Regions from separate parts of the Homo sapiens genome. Here region 2 is linked to region 1. The links are contacts of gene promoters, found by promoter capture Hi-C in human tissues and cell types (Jung and others, 2019). All regions are on one chromosome and are shown on one strand. The core of a region is centred on a gene start or on the middle of the fragment in contact, and the rest is flanking DNA. Distances in the headings are between cores, read along the strand shown.

Evidence for each region. The method cuts DNA at HindIII sites, captures the fragments that hold promoters and counts their contacts. A contact is called where the count stands out against the background at its distance.
Region 2: a fragment that was not itself captured here is called in contact with the fragment with the promoter of CHRNA5 in region 1 in 1 of the 25 tissues and cell types used here (liver).

The regions. Positions count from the first base shown.
Region 1 is chr15:78,564,086-78,567,142 of GRCh38, forward strand. CHRNA5 (cholinergic receptor nicotinic alpha 5 subunit) reads left to right here and starts at 1,435. Exons shown (of 6, transcript NM_000745.4): 1 at 1,435-1,740. The coding sequence starts at 1,635. RefSeq lists an enhancer at 633-822 and a silencer at 1,633-1,722. The HindIII fragment of the contact is 8,456 bases long and covers 1-3,057 here.
Region 2 is chr15:78,599,926-78,602,982 of GRCh38, forward strand. CHRNA3 (cholinergic receptor nicotinic alpha 3 subunit) reads right to left here. Exons shown (of 6, transcript NM_000743.5): 5 at 1,328-2,339. Among named protein-coding and RNA genes, the nearest start is that of CHRNA3, 20 kb to the right of the region's middle. The HindIII fragment of the contact is 3,886 bases long and covers 1-3,057 here.

The DNA of each region.
Region 1 (3,057 bases), core at 185-2,684:
TTAAAGTCATCCAAACACTGTTAGGATGAATTGCATAAGTGCCTGTAAGTCCCATAAATTCTTCAGAGTAAAATGTAAATTTGCAGTGAAAGGATGATAGGTACTGTCTTTCATTTCTGTGCAGAAGTGCAATTAATTACTAATCTGGTTAACATCTTGTGCATCCCTTTTCTGTGGCCCCTTTGTTTAAGTCCTGTTTAAACAGATTGGCTCCATTGGATGTAATTTACATTTTTCCAGCTGTATTTGGACCTAAGAAGAGCATCTTCACTGAATTTTGCTGTTTAGATTCTTTGCAACCAGGTTTAGTTTTTCACAGATTTACTAGTCTGGAGGGTGGAGTGAAATTTTTGCTCACAATGAGTCTTAGAGGTGTCACCTCCATAAAGCGTTCTGTGAAGAGTCAGCGGCTCCCTCTGCCACTGAAGTTTAAAGATAATTCGCCTGAATCCCTTCAGCCAAATGAAGCTTTCTAATTATGGACAGAGAGGATGAAATATAGGGTCTGGAGGGATTTGAGACGGGTTTCCAGCAGTCGGCACCAATCTCCACCAGAGGTGCTAAGTGTCTGTAGCAGATAGTCACTAATATTTACAAATGTTAATTGATGACAACACGGAGGGCGATGCCCACGTTTGAGGCGACTGCATATCATTTCCGGGGATGGCTTGAGTGAGTGTCAGAGCTGTACCTTCCCGAGTCCTCTAGTTTATCTGCCTCGGTTCCTCGCTTCCAGACGAGGAAACAGGCCCAGAGAGGAAAGTGACTTGCCCAGGGTTGTCTCGCTGGTCCACAACACAGGTCTCCTGGTGGGGACCCCTTGGCTGACACGACAGCCCCAGGAGGCAGTCAAGCTGCGACTGGTACTTCCTGGTGAGAAAGACTTGAGTGGGCAGCGGGGCCCATGGAGAGCGCTGCAGCCTGGAGCAAGTCCCCCACCACTGTGATTCTGCCCCAGCCTCCAGCTTGTTTCTTTCTGATCACAACTCGGAATTACTTTATTTACATTTTCTATCAGCTGGGAGCAATCTGTCCCTCTGCTTCCCCTTTTGGTGCTGAGCACAGAGCAGACATCAATGAATAGCTGTTATCTTAAGGTGTGCAGTGACTAGGCCAAGGACATCCGGTGGTTAGAGAAGGACGCGCCTGCGATGCCAGCCTCAAGTCTTTGCCTTCCTGGAACTCTGCTCCAGGGTCGCACCTGCCCAAAGGAAGGCCTGGAGGCGGGGGCCAGGGCGATGGGGCTGGGCCAGGCGTGGAAAAAGAGGAGCTAGGAGCAGACAGGGTTGGACCAGAGGCGGGGCGGGGTGGGGAAAGGGTTGGTGGGGATCGGAGGCGGGGCTATGAATAGACCGGACTGGGCCAAAAGGAACAAGGCGAGGATTGGGCGGGGCCAGAGGGAAATAGGGGCGGGGCTAGGCGCCGGGAGCTTCCACATGCGTCCCGAGCCCGCCAGAAGCTGCTAGGCTGAGGCTGCTGTCCCGGCGGGAGCTGTGGCGCGGAGCGGCCCCTCTGCTGCGTCTGCCCTCGTTTTGTCTCACGACTCACACTCAGTGCTCCATTCCCCAAGAGTTCGCGTTCCCCGCGCGGCGGTCGAGAGGCGGCTGCCCGCGGTCCCGCGCGGGCGCGGGGCGATGGCGGCGCGGGGGTCAGGGCCCCGCGCGCTCCGCCTGCTGCTCTTGGTCCAGCTGGTCGCGGGGCGCTGCGGTCTAGCGGGCGCGGCGGGCGGCGCGCAGAGAGGTAAGCCCGGGCTGCAGAGGGGCGGGGCGGGAGCTGGCCCGGACTCCACATCGCGGTGCCCAGGAAGCCGCCAGGCGACGGCCGCCGGAAAACCTGGTTGCGAGGGGAGGTGGGTTTTTTTCTCCTGGGGGCTTGGAGTGAGGTTTCAGTTTAAATGTCCAGATTTGCTCATTTAAATGCAGAGAAAGGGCTACTTGGGTGGGTTTTCTTTGTTGTTCCACGACCTGCATCGCTGGAGACTACGAGGCTGGCTTAGCGTATACTTCCACACAACTTTTTCAGTAAAAGATGCCACTCTTGTCCAGCAGGGCTTTCCTGTCCTGGTGGCAGCCAAGCTTCCCATTTTGTTGCCCATTTACGGGATATAGAGACTCTGGGGTTCATTCTAGGGGTTGGGACTTATCTTCCACCTCCTGCCCGCCGCCTCTTCCTCCATCCCTGTCCCCTACCCACCGCAGCATTTGAAAACCTTTCCTTTCGCCGGAGATGAAAGGTGTGTGTTGTAGCAGGCTAGGCGGCCAACTTCCCTGGCTTCGGGGCTAATCGTTTGCATCCAGAGTTCCTCACTAGCTCCTTAGAGCACAGCTTTTTTCAGCCTGCTGTTTTTCAAGAGGTTTTGGACAGGAATGGAAACAACAAAAGAAATCGCGTAGTCCTACATGTTTCAAGTGCTTGGGAAAGTTTTAGAGTCAGTTCTCTCAATACCTTGAAGAAAAACACGTTTGTGGAGCAGCTATGGTGTGATCTAAACGTAGAAAAGCTAAGCATCCGTTAAGCAAGATATGATTACAGAAGTTCACTACGTCTGTATTTCAGGTTTTATGAGTGAGTTTCTTAAATAGTGGAAATATTGCAAGAACCTTTTCTTGCCTTTCCTTTGTTAAGGTTTTTAATCTATGGCTCCTGATTTTAGGAAGTAATAAGACTAGAATAATTCATTGCAGGATGTATTGCTTAGTGTAGACCGAAGAGAAATAAGATGGAGGGTGATTTAAACAAATGAAGAAAATCCTGGGCAGAGAGAGTTAAACAGAAAGAAAGGAATGTGATTTTGGAGCCAGGCAAACCTGTATTCAAATTATGGCTCTGGTGCATCCTGACTGGACGAACTTCTCTCAGCTGTTTTCCTTCTTTAAGAAATGGCGGGCCGGGCGCGGTGGCTCACGCCTGTAATCCCAGCACTTTGGGAGGCCGAGGCGGGCAGATCACGAGGTCAGGAGATCGAGACCATCCTGGCTAACACAGTGAAACCCCGTCTCTACTAAAAATACAAAAAAATTAGCCGGGCGTGGTGGTGCGCGCCTGTAGTCCCAGCTA
Region 2 (3,057 bases), core at 411-2,910, 36 kb after region 1:
TGAATCACTTGAACCTGGGAAGCAGAGGTTGCAGTAGGCAGAGATTGTACTACTGCACTCCATTCTGGGTGACAGAGCAAGACTCCATCTCAAAAAAAAAAAAAAATAGGTAAAACTAATCAATTATCAAATAAGTCAGTATAATGGTTTTTTAAAAAATTAATTAATTAATTAAAGAAAGGACTTCACTCTGTTACCCAGGCTGGAGTGCAGTGGCATGATCACAGCTCACTAGACTTCCTGAGCTCCAGTGATCCTCTCACCTCAGCCTCCTGAGTAGCTGGAACTACAGGCACGTGCCACCACGCCTGGCTAATTTTTGTATTTCTGTTAGAGACGGGGTTTCGCTATGTTTCCCAGGCTGGTCTCAAACTCCTGATCTCAAGCCATCCACCTGCCTCAGCCTCCTAAAGTGCTAGGATTACAGGCGTGAGCCACTGCGCCTAAGCCAGGATGGTGGGTACCAAGCAGGGAGGGAGACACTGACTGGCAAGGGCATTGGGGAACTTTCTAGGGGCCCTGGGAGTGTTCTATATCTTTACCTGGGTCTTGGTTACATGGTTGTATACATGATGTAAAAACTCATTGAGATGTACACTGAAGAGGTGTGCACTTTACTCCACGTAAATTCTTCCTCAGTGAGAACACATATACAATTAGAAAGTAAAAATAAAGGCCAGGTGCGGTGGCTCATGCCTGTAGTCCCAGCATTTTGGGAGACTGAGGTGAGCAGATTGAGTCGAGGAGTCTGAGACCAACCTGGGCAACATGGCAAAACCCCATCGGTACAAAAAAATTAGGGTATGGTGGCGGGGCATCTGTAGTTCAAGCTACTCGGGAAACTGAGGTGGGAGAATCGCTTGAGCTGGGAGGCGGAAGTTGCAGTGAGCCAAGATTGCGCCACTGCACTCCAGCCTGGGCAACAGAGCAGGACCCTGTCTCAAAAAAATAAATAAAAATAAAAATATAACCTCAATTAACCAATACTAACTGGAGATCATCTGGCCCCATGCCCTTTTCCAGCCTACATCCTAATCTAGTCTATTGGCATCAGGTGTTTTCATGGTCCAGCCTGCCAGCCTGCTGGCAGCCTGGTGGCTAGCTTCAGGGTACCACATACCAAGCTTTATCATCCCATTTTACAGAAGAGAAAACAGGCTCAGAGAGGTGAGGTAACATACCCAAGGACATATAACTGGTCTTAACACAGGCCACTGACTCCAGAGGGCAATTTCTTAACCCCCTACCCTATGCCTTGCCCCACGAGGAACCCATAAATATTTGTTGAATGAATGAATGACCAATGTAATAAAAGCCATATCCTTACCTCTTTGGCTTCATTTTGTGCTTTCATATTTTCAGCAATATACTTGACACTTTGGATGGCTTCTTTGATTTCTGGTGACAAAGCAGAGAGGGACAGCACAGCATCAACAGATTCAGAACTAGAGCTTCTCGTGAGGTTAGCACTGAAATTGGAGATTTTTATCCTGCGGTGGTGGCAGTAACCACACATCCCGTCCTGGCAGGGGTAGCCCTCCTTGCAGCCTTTGGACTCTGCGCGGCTGAAGCAATTCAGATTTGAGAGCTCGGCACCGTAGAGGGGCCTCGGCTTCTGAGCGTTGCCCTCGTTGCTTGTTGGCCTGGTCATGAACATGACCCTGGGGAGCAGGTTCAAGAATACAGTCTTCACCCATGAGGGCATTGTGTGTGTCGTCGGGGTTCTGTAGTGCACGTTGAGCACGAAGACGGTGATGACGATGGACAAGGTTACAAAAATCATGGTGAACAGGAGGTACTCTCCAATCAGGGGGATGACCAGCGAGGTGGAAGGGATGGTCTCAGTGATCACCAGGAGAAACACCGTCAGGGAGAGGAGGACAGAAATGCACAGGGTCACCTTCTCACCGCAGTCGGAGGGCAGGTAGAAGACGAGCACAGTGAGGAAGGAGATGAGCAGGCAGGGGATGATGAGGTTGATGGTGTAGAACAAGGGCAGGCGCCGGATGTACAGCGAGTATGTGATGTCGGGGTAGATCTCCTCGCAGCAGTTGTACTTGATGTCGTGTTTGTAGCCTGGGGCTTTGATGATGGCCCACTCGCCGCTCTCCCAATAGTCCTTGAGGTTCATGGAAGAGCCGATCAGGACCAGATCGATTTTCGCCTTATCGTAGGACCAGGAACCGAACTTCATGGTACAGTTTTGGTAATCAAACGGGAAGTAGGTCACGTCGATTTTACAGGAGCTCTTAAAGATGGCCGGAGGTATCCAAGTCACCTCCCCAGTGTACTTGAGTAAGGCTTTGGTCTTGTCGTCCACCTGGAAATCCCCAACAGCACTGCAAAGACAAAGAGGGGGCACAGTGACACACGGTCATTAACACTTGGTCATATTGTGGTCATCTCAACCAGCTTCTCACAGTAAGTAATGATTTGGAAGGCACTGGAAGATGAGAGCTAAAGTGCCATAAAAGGTCACCCATTTCCTGGCCCCATTTACCAACAGGGATACTGAGGCCCAAGCTCCCTCCCCAACAACAATCTGAGATATGGATCACTCCCTGCCCCAGGGCAGGCCACCAGTTCATCCCACAATACAGGTCCCAAACTGATAGACTCCCAAATGCCCGAAGAGGATTGGTCCCCCTTTAATTAAAGAAATGGGAGGAAGGTCATCCTCCTGGAGCCAGGTGCTGAAGCAGCCTTTGGGATTATTTGCCACCCAGGGTCCCTGAGGCTTGGCCCTCTCCTCATTCAGTCTGTACCGGGCGCCTAATGTGTGTGTGAAACCAGACTATGGATGTGGAAGGGGCTGCACAGACCACCCAGGGGAGTCCACCCCCATTAAACGGAACCTTGTCAGATGGATTTACTTCCAAACCCTATCTCTGGATCCTGATTTGACCATTCCCTGTACCCTCCCCACCCCCATTCTTCCCAGTACTGTTTTACAATAATCATGTTTTGCTTCCTTGTCTTTCGAATTCAGCCTAACAGGTTTCTTCACTTTCTGTGTCCCTATCCCCATTTTCTCCCCATGTTTCTTCTCCCTTCCTT